Regions from separate parts of the Homo sapiens genome. Here region 1 is linked to region 2. Evidence: promoter capture Hi-C in human tissues and cell types (Jung and others, 2019). All regions are on one chromosome and are shown on one strand. Each heading gives the region's core, a stretch centred on a gene start or on the middle of the fragment in contact. The rest is flanking DNA. Distances are from core to core; before and after follow the strand shown.

The links. The method cuts DNA at HindIII sites, captures the fragments that hold promoters and counts their contacts. A contact is called where the count stands out against the background at its distance.
Region 1: a fragment that was not itself captured here is called in contact with the fragment with the promoter of SLCO1B3 in region 2 in 2 of the 25 tissues and cell types used here (dorsolateral prefrontal cortex and hippocampus).

The regions. Positions count from the first base shown.
Region 1 is chr12:21,077,012-21,083,366 of GRCh38, reverse strand. The region is part of intron 15 of SLCO1B3-SLCO1B7 (SLCO1B3-SLCO1B7 readthrough); the gene reads right to left. Among named protein-coding and RNA genes, the nearest start is that of SLCO1B1, 51 kb to the left of the region's middle. The HindIII fragment of the contact is 4,453 bases long and covers 1-3,710 here.
Region 2 is chr12:20,807,382-20,814,058 of GRCh38, reverse strand. SLCO1B3 (solute carrier organic anion transporter family member 1B3) reads right to left here and starts at 3,354. Exons shown (of 16, transcript NM_019844.4): 1 at 3,295-3,354; 2 at 421-535. The HindIII fragment of the contact is 19,974 bases long and covers 1-6,677 here.

The DNA of each region.
Region 1 (6,355 bases), core at 235-2,734, 270 kb before region 2:
AGCCTAACACTTGCCTTAATTGGCTAAAATCAAGGTATTGATAGAGCTGCATCTTTTTATTTTATTTTATTATTTATTTATTTTTGAGATGGAGTCTCACTCTGTTGCCCATGCTAGACTACAGTGGCAAGATCTTGGCTCACTGCTACGTCCACCTCCCAGGTTCCCGTGATTCTCCTACCTCAGCATCCTGAGTAGTTGGGATTACAGGCACCTGCCACCATGCCAGGCTAATTTTTGTATTTTTTAGTAGAGACGGGGTCTCACCATGTTGGCCAAGCTGGTCTCTAACTCCTGACCTCAAGTGATCCACCTTCCTTGGCCTCCCAAAGTGCTGAGATTACAGGTATAAGCCACCGCGCCTAGCCCTGCATTTTTTTTCTGTAAGCTCTACAACCTGTTTCCTTGTCTTTTCCCACTTCTAGAGGCGACCTACATTCCTTGGCTTCTGGGCCGTTTCCTTCAACTTCAAAACCGGCAACAATATGCATAGTCGTTCTCACATCACATCCCTCTGACCTCTTCTGTTGCTTCCCACTTACATACACACATACATATATATGTGTGGGTGTACACAACACACACACACACACACACACACACACACACATTTCCTTTTAGTTCTACCAAAACCTTCACTAAAGGAAAAGAAACTAATATGGGTTTTTTAAAAAATTGTTTTAGAAGTCTTTTCATACTGAAACTAAAGTAACTAAAGTAATGCTATCCTAAAATGTGATGTTAATGCTTGGACTTGGTGATCATTGCTTTGGGGAGATTCTGAGGAGCATCTTGACAGTTGTCCTAAAATGAGTTATAATTCCAAATAAAAATAAACACTTTCGGCCGGGCACAGTGGCTCACACCTGTAATCCCAGCACTCTGGGAGGCCTAGGCGGGTGTATCATGAGGTCAGGAGATTGAGACCATCCTGGCTAACACGGTGAAACCCCGTCTCTACTAAAAATACAAAATATTAGCCGGGCCTGGTGGCAGGCGCCTGTAGTCCCAGCTACTTGGGAGGCTGAGGCAGGAGAATGGTGTGAATCCTGGAGGCAGAGCTTGCAGTGAGCCGAGATTGCGCCACTGCACTCCAGCCTGGCCAACAGAGCGAGACTCAGTCTCAAAAAGCAAACAAACAGACAGAAATAAACACTTTCTTAACATAATGTCATTAAAGTAAATTTAGTAAGTGTTGCTTTTTTATTTCTTTCCATACTTTTATTCGTGGAAATAAAATCTACCATTTAGGAAGACATTTTATATAATAAGACTTAAAGTTAGGAGAATGTGGGGTAGTGAATGCTGCTTTACTACAATTCCAGGAAAAGCTGGATCATTACTTGTTGGGAATGTTTGATAGTGAATTTACATATTAAGTAAGAGAAGGTTCTAGTAAATTTGACCCAGGGAGTTTTCTCCAGGGATTTCACCTGAACTAAGAAACATTCCCCACTTTACATAAACAATAGCATGCTCCACGTATTCTTCCTGCTTTGTCCTTTTTTTTAATGTAACAATATATTGTGAATAGGGTCCATATTAGAAAATACATATCTCGTTTCTTCTTTTTTTAAGAACTCAGAATATTCATTTGCCTGCATGTGTCACTATTTGATAACTTATTGATTGATATTTACATTGTTTTCAGTATTTTGGGAATATAGCTTGCTAGAGGATAAATTCCTAGAAGTACTCCCACTGGCTCAAAGTCATTTACTTTGCAAACACAATCTCCAATCAACACCTTTGTTGACAATCTGGGTGACTTTTAATTGCAATTCTCTTATTGTCAATGAATAAAAAAATGATGTTCATATTTTCATGTTTCATAACCTCTAGTGACTTTTTTGGAAAATGTTTGATGATTTTTTTTCTTTACTAGTTCCTATATCTTATAGCAATTTTAGTTTTACAGAAAACTGTACAGAAAGTATGGAGGGCTCCCTGCCCAACATACGCACAGTTTCTCCTATCATTAACCCCTTGTATTAGTACAGCACATTTGTTCCAAATGATGAAAGAATACCGATACATTATTAAGTCCATATTTTACATTAGAGTTCACTTTCTATGTTGTAAATTTCCAAAGGTTTGGCAAATGCATATTATGATGCAACATTATAATATCATATAGAATAGTTTCACTAGCCCAAAAAATGTCTTGTGTCAGACCTATTCAGACCTATTCATCCATTCCTTTTCCCCACTGAGCCCCAAGAAACAACTGATCTTTTCATTGCCCATTGTTTTGCCTTTTCTACAAAGTTATACAGTTAAAATTATACAATCTGAAGCTTTGTAGGCTGCCTTCTTTTATTTACACATTTAATTTTCCTTTCTTTCTTTTTGTAGATTGATAGCTCATTTTTTTTTAATTGATTGATGTGATTTGGATTTGTGTCTCTGCCCAAATATCATGCCAAATTGGAGGAGGGGCCTGGTGGGAGATGACTGGATTATGGGGGGTGGATTTCCCCCTTTCTGGTCTCAAGATAGTGAGTGAGTTATGAGATCTGATGGTTTAGAAGTGTGTGGTACTTCCACTTTTGCGCTCTCTCTCTCTCTCTCCTGTTGCCATGAGAAGATATGCTTTGTTTCCCCTTCGCCTTGTGCCATGACTGTAAGTTTCCTGAGGCCTCCCAGTCATGCTACCTGTAAAGCCTGTTGAACTGTGAATGAATTAATCCTGTTTTCTTCATAAATTACCCAGTCTCAGGTAGTTCTTTATAGCATCCTGAGAATGGACTAATACATTGATGACTAATATTCCATTGTATGAATGTACCACAGTTCAATTATTTGTTTACCTATTAAAGGACATCTTAAATGCTTCCACTTTTTAACATTCAAATGCAGGGTTTTTTTTTGTGGACATGTTTCCAATTAATTTAGGTAAATATCTGGGAGCATGATTGCTTAATCATACAGTAAATCTATCTTTTGCTTTTAAAAAACTTTGACTCTGTCTTCCAACATGGCTGTACCATTTTATATTACCTCCAGCAATGAAAGAAAATTCCTGTTATCTCATTCTTGCCAGCATTTGGTGGTGTTTTTGTTAATTTTTAAGAGCTTTTTATATACATAGGACATTTGCCTATGTCTGTGTCTGACTTAGAAATTCTTCTAATTTATCTTTTGCTGTTGAATTTCACTTAAAATAAGTTCTGGTGATGCAGTTTTTAAAATATTTTATTATTTGTTCCTTTTCTTTATCTTCTTTGTTTTAACATTTATTTTAGGTTCACGGGTACATGTGCAGGTTTGTTATGTAGGTAAATTGTATGCTATGCAGGTTTGGTGTACAGACTTATTGTCACCCAGGTAATAATCATAGTCACTTATAGGTAGCTTTGTATCTTCACCCTCCTCTCACCCTCCACCCACAAGCAGACCCCAGTGTCTCTTGTTCCCTTATTTGTGTCCATATGTACTCAATGTTTAGCTCCCACTTAAAAGAGAGAACATGTGGTATTTGATTTTCTGTTCCATAGGCTCACTTATGATTCAACATCACTAATTATTAGAGAAATACAAATCAAAACTACAATGAGATACCATCTCACACCAGTTAGAATGGCTATTGTTAACAAGTAAAAAAATAACAGATACTGACAAGGTGGTGAAAAAAAGGGAACACTCATACATTACTGGTGGGATTGTAAATTAGTTCTGCCATTGTAGAAAGCAGTCTGGTGGTTTATCAGAGAATGTAAAACAAAATTACCATTCAGCCCATTAATTGTATTACTGGGTATAAACCCAAAGCAATAAAAATCCTTCCACCATTTTTTTTTTTTAATTATCATTTGGGGCATTTGGGTCATACTTGGTGTTATGGGTTGGTTGTGTCCCCACCCAAATCTCATCTTAAACTATAGTTCCCATCATCCCCAAATGTCGTGGAAGGGACCCAGTGAGAGGTAACTGAATTATGGGGATGGTTATCTCCACACTGTTCTCGTAGTGAGTGAGTTCTCATGAGACCTGATGGTTTTATAAGGTGCTTTTCTCCCTCTTTGCTTGGCACTTCTTCTTGCTGCTGCCATGTGCAGAAGGATGTGTTTGCTTTCCCTTCTGCTGTGATTTTAAGTTTACCCAGGCCTCCCCAGCCCTCCAGAACTGCAAGTCAATTAAACCTCTTTCCTTTATAAATTACCAGTCTTGAGTATGTCTTTATTAGCAGTGTGAGACTGGACTACTACAGTAAATAGGTACCAGGTAAGGGGGCACTGCTGTAAAGATATCCCAAAATGGGGAAGCAACCTTGGAATTTGGTAACAGGCAGAGGTTGGAATTGTTTGGATGGCTCAGAAGAAGACAGAAAAATGTGGGAAACTTTGGAACTTCCTAGAGACTTGGAGGGCTCAGAAAATAGGAAGATGTGGGAAAGTTTGAAACTTTCAAGAGTCTTGTTGAATAGCTTTGAACAAAATGCTGATAGTGATATGGATGATAAAGTCCAGGCTGACGTGGTCTCAGATGGAGATGAGGAACTTGTTGGGAGCTGGAGTAAAGGTCACTGTTGCTATACAAAGAGTTGGGTGACATTTTGCCCCTACCCTGGAGATCTGTGGAACTTTGAACTTGAGAAAGATAATTTAGGGTATCTGGTGGAAGAAATTTCTAAGTGGCAAAGTGTTCAAGAAGAAGTGGTGCATAAAAGTTTGAAAAATTTGCAGCCTGATGATACAGTAGAAAAGAAACCCATATTCTGCGGAGAAATTCAAGCCAGCTGCAGAAATTTACATAAGTAATGAGAAGACAAATGTTAATTGCCAAGATAATGGAGAGAATGTCTCCAGGGAATGTCAGAGACCTTTGTGGCAGCCCCTCCCATCACAAAACAAGAGGCCTAAGAGAAGTACTGGTTTTGTGGGCTGGGCCCAGGGACCCCTGCTGTGTGTAGCCCAGAAACTTGGTGCTACAAGTCCCAGACACTCCAGCCATTTTTAAAAGACGCCATGGTACAGCTTGCCCCATGGCTTTAGAGGTTGCAAGCCGCGAGCCTTGGCAGCTTCCATGTGGTGTTGAACCTGTAGATGCACAGAAGTAAAGAATTGAGGTTTGGGAACCTCCGCTAAGATTTCAGAACATGTATGGAACTTTCTAGGCAGAAGCTTGCTGCAGGGATGGGGCCCTTATGCAGAATCTCTGCTGGGACAGTGTGGAAGGGAAATGTAGGGTTGGAACCCCCACACAGAGTCCCCACTGGGGCACTCCCTAGTGTGGCTGTTAGAAGATGCCCACCATCCTCTATACCCCAGAATGGTAGACCTACCAACACCTTGCTTTGTGTGCCTGAAAAAGCTGCAGACACAATGCCAGCCCTTAAAAGCAGCCTGAAGGGAAGCTGTATCCTGCAAAGCCACAGTGGTAGAGCTGCCCAAGACCATGGGAGCCCACCTCTTGCATCTGTGTAAACTGGACGTGAGACATGGAGCCAAAGGAGGTCATTTTGGAACAATAAGGTTTAAAGACTGCCCTATTAGATTTTCGGCTTGCATGGGGCCTGTAGCCCCTTTGTTTTGGCCAATTTCTCCCATTTGGAATGGGTGTATTAACCCAATGCCTGTACTCCCCATTGTACCTAGGAAGCAACTTATCTGCTTTGATTTTACCAGCTCATAGGCAGAAGGTACTTGCTTTGTCTCAAATGAGACTTTGGACTTGGACTTTTGAGTTAATGCTGAAATGAGTTAAGACTTTAGGGGCCTGGTGGGAAGGCATAATTGTGTTTTGAAATGTGAGGACATGAGATTTGAGAGGGGCCAGGGACAGAATGATATTGTTTGGCTGTGTCCTCACCCAAATCTCATCTTGAACTGCAGTTCCCATAATCCCCATGTGTCATGGCAGGGACCCATTGGGAGGTAATTGAATCATGGAGATGGTTACCTCCATGCTCTTCTCATGAAAGTGAATGAGTTCTCACGAGATCAGATGGTTTTATAAGGGGCTCTTCTTTTCCTTCACTCTGCACTTCTCCTTGCTGCTGCCATGTAAAGAAAGATGTGTTGGCTTCCCTTTCTGCCATAATTGTAAGTTTCCTGAGGCCTCCCCAGACCTGAAGAACTGTCAGTCAATTAAACCTCTTTCATTTATAAATTACCCAGTCTTGGGTATGTCTTTATTAGCAGTGTGAGAATCGACTAATACACTTAGAAACACATTTTTTTCTTCCTAGATAATTAAAAGAAATCCTATGTGAGTAGTTCTAATACTTATAATTTCACATGTAAAATTTGTGTATTTGGTCAATATATAAATTTCAAACTAATGTTTCTATAATTAGTAAGGCACACTTGCAGCAGCTTGTTTTCCTCCAGATGATCATCCAGTTATCTTAATG
Region 2 (6,677 bases), core at 2,105-4,604:
CTATGTAGATACTTGCTATGTAGCTGCTCATATAGATACCTTAGATATGTAAATATCTAAGTATGTAAATATCAATGTTATCTATATAAGCATCCGATTTGTAATAGGATACTGATTATATAATATGTATGATATAGGTTATATGTACAATTGATTCTCACGTTTTGCAATAATTATGTTCCATAAAGTTGCTGGGAACACTGAATTTGCAAATATTAATCCATCATTCCTAGAAGAGATACAGTGTTAGGTGACTGTGTGGCTTTGGTCACAATATTTTAATCAACGGATCAATACATAACTTAATACATAATGTTTTATGTATGTTTTTGTTTAAAGACACCTTAGTATATACTGTTGATTCATTAACATTGAATTAGTGGCCAATAGCACTGTAGTTCATGCCTGAGGGAAACTTACATAGCATATGTACCTCTTCTGTCAGGCCCTCTAGGAGGTGGGAACAACGGGACAACACTTCAGGGCTATGCTTGAAGTCCATTTAAAACAGTAAACTCAGCATCGCAAAGCACAACTATGGAAACAATGTGGCGATAAATGCACTGTGAAGTTTATAGTATGGGAGCTGAGAGAGGAAGGCAGAGCTTCACTTTGTTCCACTTCAACTGGAAACAGAGCAACTCAAATTTTTCACCACTCTGCTCATGCATGCCAATGATCACAAAAGCCCAGCAGTATTAATTTTGGTGTCACAAACAAATTTTAGTGTTTAGACAAATTTTCTAATATAGAATCTGTGAATAATGAAGATCTACTGCATATTTTATGCATTAATTTACTCAACAAGGATTTATTGATTCTCTATATTATAAATGCATAAAAACCATAAATATATATCATGCATATTTAGTGGATAATGCATGAATATGGAAAAATCAATATCTGAAGATATTATCACTTATGTATATGCGAGTGTATATAAATACACTCATGAATGGAGAAACCCATACCTATGTATCTCTAAGAGAAGTTCAATTATTCCACTTTTTGTATGTGTTTTGTAGGTAAAGTGAGGAAAAAAATCAATAATTTGGTGGTCTCAAGGTAATAAGCAGCCCCTTAATAAATTTACACCACTTTTTCCACGAATATCTCTGTTTCTTCATAATTTAAAAGTTGGAAAATATTTATTTTTTACCAATTAATTCTATAATTGCAAATCTTTTTGAACGACTTGCAAGGCAGATAGTCTTCCTTCAGCTTTAGAGTTTTCTTTTTCTTTATACTAAACAAATATTCTTGAAGGCTTGAAGACTATTATCTCACCACTCAAGCCTTGTTTCTTTCAATTGATTAATTTCTACTTGTCCTGTCTTCCAGCTTGCTTTCTTTCCTATGCATATCATGTCCATTCTTGGAATCATTCAAAGATCCCTCTTACAACAAAAATAAAACTTACACTTCCTATTTGAGGGTCTTCACAGCCTAAATGAATCCAAGTTTTTAGTCCCATTTCCCAATACAACCATAAGCACTTGCAGATGTATGGAACCACTGTCCCAACAGAAAAGCTCTCTACCTTCATGTATATGTCTTCCATTCCTGGAATGTCCTTCCCTATCTCTTGGCTGTAATGCGGCTCCAAATCACACCACTTTAATGTTTCCCTATTTACCTCTAGTTGAAATAAACTCTCTCATCCTCTCATCCTTCTGTACCACTGGAGAACATACCCGAATAATCATTACTTTTTTCTGTTATTTCCCGTACTTTCCAAGACAACTATTCCACACCTCTCTCTTTTATGTTCAGATAAAATACCCATCCAGAAAAATAAGAAATGTGGGCACTTGGTTTCTCATCTCTCAGAAAGGTTAAATTGTATCAAGTAGGCCGGGAGCAGTGACTCATGCCTGTAATCCCAGCACTTTGGGAGGCCGAGGCGGGCAGATCACCTGAGGTTGGGAGTTCGAGACCAGCCTGACCAACACAGAGAAACCCCATTTCTGCCAAAAATACAAAATTAGCTGGGTGTGGTGGTACATGCCTGTAATCTCAGCTACTCTGGAAGCTCAGGCAGGAGAATCACTTGAACCCAGGAGGCTGAGGTTGTGGTGAGCTGAAATCACGCCATTGCACTCCAGCCTGGGCAACAAGAGCGAAACTCCTTCTCAAAAAAAAAAAAAAAAAAATGTATCAAGTAAGTACAAAGTACCTACAAAACTTGAATATCAATTTAGCCTTGAATAAATACCACACTTTTTACTTCATTGTGGCATTTTAAGCCTTATTTAGAAGCGTTTAATATATTTTGCTCTGAACATATTATTTCTGAGTTCCAAATTATTGACATAAATAAATGTTGAGGACACAATATGTTTATAGACAGAGCCACAGGCATTTGTATGCAGCATTGCAACTCTTCCCTGAACAGAACAGGTCAGTTCTTCACAGTTTGATTGGGCTGAAGTAGAGGGCAGAATCTTACCAGCCTCTGCTTATTTCTGTTTAGCTTTTCATATTTAAGGGGTTATAGAAAACCAGTGCAGGCCAAGTGACCCAGTTTCTAGCATGTACCTATGGAACTGAGGAGGATAAAAGGGAAAACAGCATTTCCTAACTTCTTAGATTGTTCAGAGGAGAGAATTTCTGCATCCCCACCTTACTTTCACAATAAAAATAACTGTCTTATCAGGGAAGCCACCTTCCTGAATGGGTGAAGGGGACCATTATTTATTGAGCTGTTAATTCTTTCCAAGAGCTGTGCCCAGAAGATTTTTTTCTCTTATTTGAACAGAGATAAAAAAGTTATCTAGAAAATCTCTTTCCCCTCACCCTAAATCAAACGAGTTGAATGGAGGAAAGTGAGGTGATTAAGTGACTTTGAAACATATTTTCCACCCCTCCACCCGCCCACTCCTACTTATCCAGTTAAAGTGAAATCAAAGAAATAGGGAGCCTGGTATAGTAATTCAATACAGTTTATACAAATAATTATCTTATAGTATATTTTAAGAGAGTAACTAGAAGTCCATCCTTTCAGACTTCATGTTTCATTTGTTTAGAAAGCAATAGAAATAGGACTCCAAACTTTATTTTTCACTTTATAAAGGTATGATTTACTCTTATTTTTGAGTATATAAATCTGAGGCTCTTCTATTTCTAGAAGGGATATTTACAAGGCTTTAAGGGCTCAGAACAAAAGTGTGGAGAAGACACAGAGCATAAAATCTGTAATATTTATCATAACTACCAAAAACATTTTCACTGAAATTTGTTAAAATTTCTTACATAAAAGAAATGTTTTAATTAGACAACCTCGACGGTTCTTACCTTGACTTTGAATGCTACAGCAACTGCAACAAGTCCATCCTTTTTCTGATGTTAAAGTCTCACTTTAAATGGTTAGTTGGCTTTTTATTTGTTTGTTTTTATGAGTCCAATGATGATTAACCATCTTATTAGGTCATTGTCCTAGGCAAACAGAAAAAACATACCTAGCTAATTCTAGGAGTTCACCCCAGAAGCCTATCTTTTAAACATTTTATTAATAATTTCTCAGAATGTACACATTATGTTAACATTAGAAAATAAATTATTTCTGGGAATGATTTATTTCTTATTCAATTAAGTTGGTTGCATAAGATTTTCTTCTTTAGAAATACAAATACAACACATTATCCAAAGTATTTAAAACTATTCCAAATAGAAAATATGTCAAGGCGATTTTTTAAAATGTCCCTACATGTTACATTAGCATTCAAAAAATAAAACATACCCTCTTTGCTTGTTACATGTGTATGGATCTAATATGACGTACATGGACACTGGATATCTCACATGGAATACTAAATTGCCAATTAATTACAAGACTAGTCTTCTAAATGACAAAAATCAAGACTAGTTTGTATGATATATTCCTTACATCAATGTGTAAAGGAAGAATGATCTCCTTCTATTGACTTGCTCTTTAGAGAATGGAAGACCTTCACTCAGTTGAAACTTTTCTTGAGTAAGGATGAAGTCAAATTAATTAATTCAGTAACTCAAACATATTTGACTCCCTACTATATCTCAGGCACATGGCTGTGTTTTAGAAGTGTACTATAAAAATATAAATAATAAACGGAGTCTTCTCTCACATGTATATATACACACACATGCATGAGTGTATGTATATATGTATTTATGTGTATGTGTGTATGTATATAGCAAAGAGAGAATGCATGTATGAAAACATTGTTACCCCTTATCACTGACAGGACAGTTGTTGATACAGTTGCAGCAATATGTATTTAATTTCTATATCACAGTTATTTGATAAACTAGTTTTTTTTTTTTTTTTTGAGACGGAGTCTTGCTCTGTCACCCAGGCTGGAGTGCAGCGGCACGATCTCGGCTCACTGCAAGCTCCGCCTCCCGGGTTCACGCCATTCTCCTGCCTCAGTCTCCCGAGTAGCTGGCACTACAAGCGCCCGCCACCACGCCCGGCTAATTTTTTCGTATTTTTAGTAGAGACGGGGTTTCACCATGTTAGCCAGGATGGTCTCGATCTCCTGACCTCGTGATCTGCCCACCTCGGCCTCCCAAAGTGCTAGGATTACAGGCGTGAGCCACTGCGCCCAGCCTAGATTAGTTCTATACCTGGTTAATTCATGGAAGTATTAGAATAATGAAAGGAACCGGAGTGTGGAGGGAGAGAAGGATTAGAAAATGTGGGGAACACTGAAGTGTAGACCTGGGGCAGGGAAAATTAGATATAGGCTCCCAAACACCCCTCTGTTGAGTCAAAATCTACTGGGGAGCCTTTGTCAAAAGTGCGATCCAGCCCCACACCCAAGAGATTCTGATTCACGAGTTCGGAGATTATGCTTTTTAAATAAGCACTTAGAATAATTTTTACATACTGTCAGCTTTTGAGAACCATCATAGCAGAGATACTAAACATTAATTATCAGTTTTATGGCTTTTCTTTTATTCAGAATGGGAAGACAGTTTGGATATTCTCATGCTAATGGTTTTCTCCTCACACATCCATTTCATTCAAGACACATCAATTTCATTTGGGACAAATACATGCATAGAATGAAGATAAAATAGTACAAATGCACTGAGAAACTTTCTAATCCCTAAACTAACGCTATCAGTGGTAAAATTCTGGAATGTTTTCAGAAGTCAAAGAGCATTCTCTGTGCCCTTTTTTCTTCCTATGTAAGTAATTAGACTTCCCTTTTTGTGGGACTTGTGGAAAAAATAAGAGTGGTCAGAGGAAACACATTGCAACACTTTTTTTCAAGATAAATATTATGCTAACAGCTGTGGATCAATACAACTCCAAATTTGCTTAAAACAATCTGCTGTTTGTTGCCGCAATAATCATCACAGTTCTGATGAAATATTATGGGCTTTGAAGTTTGATAAACTTTGATACCAATGTCTCTGCTACTTGACAGCAGTATAAATTTCCTAAGTTGTTTCACCATTCTAAGTATCTATGCTTTCATCCATTAAGTGGGAAGGCTATAGTTGTAATAAAGATTTGCTCTGTGTAAACTGCCTCACCCAGTACCTGGCACATTATAGATTCCATACCTAAATAGAGTCATTGTATGGCATTTGCATATTGTCCATTTTTAAAGCAGTTAATTCATATTACAAGAGTAAAAGTCAAGTCTCTGAAACACGTCCCCAGCAATTTTTCCTAATAGTTTTTAGTCTGAGTTCTCAGATGGGTACTGGGTGCGTATTCCCAGAAGGAAACTTCAGGCTCAAAGCAGACCTGCCATTGCCTACCCACCCCACCTTCCTTAGCTGGTCAAGACGTAATTACAGAAAGCTGCACTCCCTGGAAAGAACCCCCATGTCTCCATACCCACTAAGGGTCAAAGCTCTGGTATCATTATGACTAATCTTATGGCAATTCTCTCTCTTAATGTCAGTCACCACCATAAGAAGGTAGGGGCAAGGCGCGGTGGCTCATACCTGTAATTCCAGCACTTTGGGAGGCCGAGGCAGGCGGATCACGAGGTCAGGAGATGGAGACCATCCTGGCTAACACGGTAAAACTCCCTCTCTACTAAAAATACAAAAAATTAGCTGGGCGTAGTGGTTAGAGGTGACAGCGTCCTGGCAGCCCTTGCTCCCTCTCCGCGGCACCTCCTCCGCCTTGGCGCCCACTCTGGCCGTGCTTGAGGAGCCCTTCAGCCCCCCTCTGCACTGTGGGAGCCCCTTTCTGGGCTGGCCGAGACCGGAGCCGGCTCCCTCAGCTTGCTGGAAGGTGTGGAGGGAGAGGCGCGGGCGGAACCCGGGCTGCGTGCGGCGCTTGCGAGCCAGCGCCAGTTCCCGGTGGGCGTGGGCTCGGCAAGCCCTGCACCCAGAGCGGCGGGCCGCGCCGGGCAGTGAGGGCCTTAGCACCTGGGCCAGCAGCTGCGGAAAGTGCGCCAGGTGTCCCAGCAGTGCCGGCCGGCCAGCGCTGCGCTGGAATTCTCGCCAGGCCTCAGCTGCCTCCCCCTGGGGCAGGGCTGGGGACCTGCAGCCTGCCATGCCTGAGCCTCCCCCTCTCCCCCTGCCGCCCCTCCTCCCCCCGCCGCCCCACACACGGCAACGCACCACGGGCTCCTGCGCCAGCTGGAGCCTGCCCGAGGAGCGCCGCCCCCTGCTCCAGGAGCACCTGGTCCCATAGACCGCCCAAGGGCTGAGGAGGGCGGGGCGCAGGG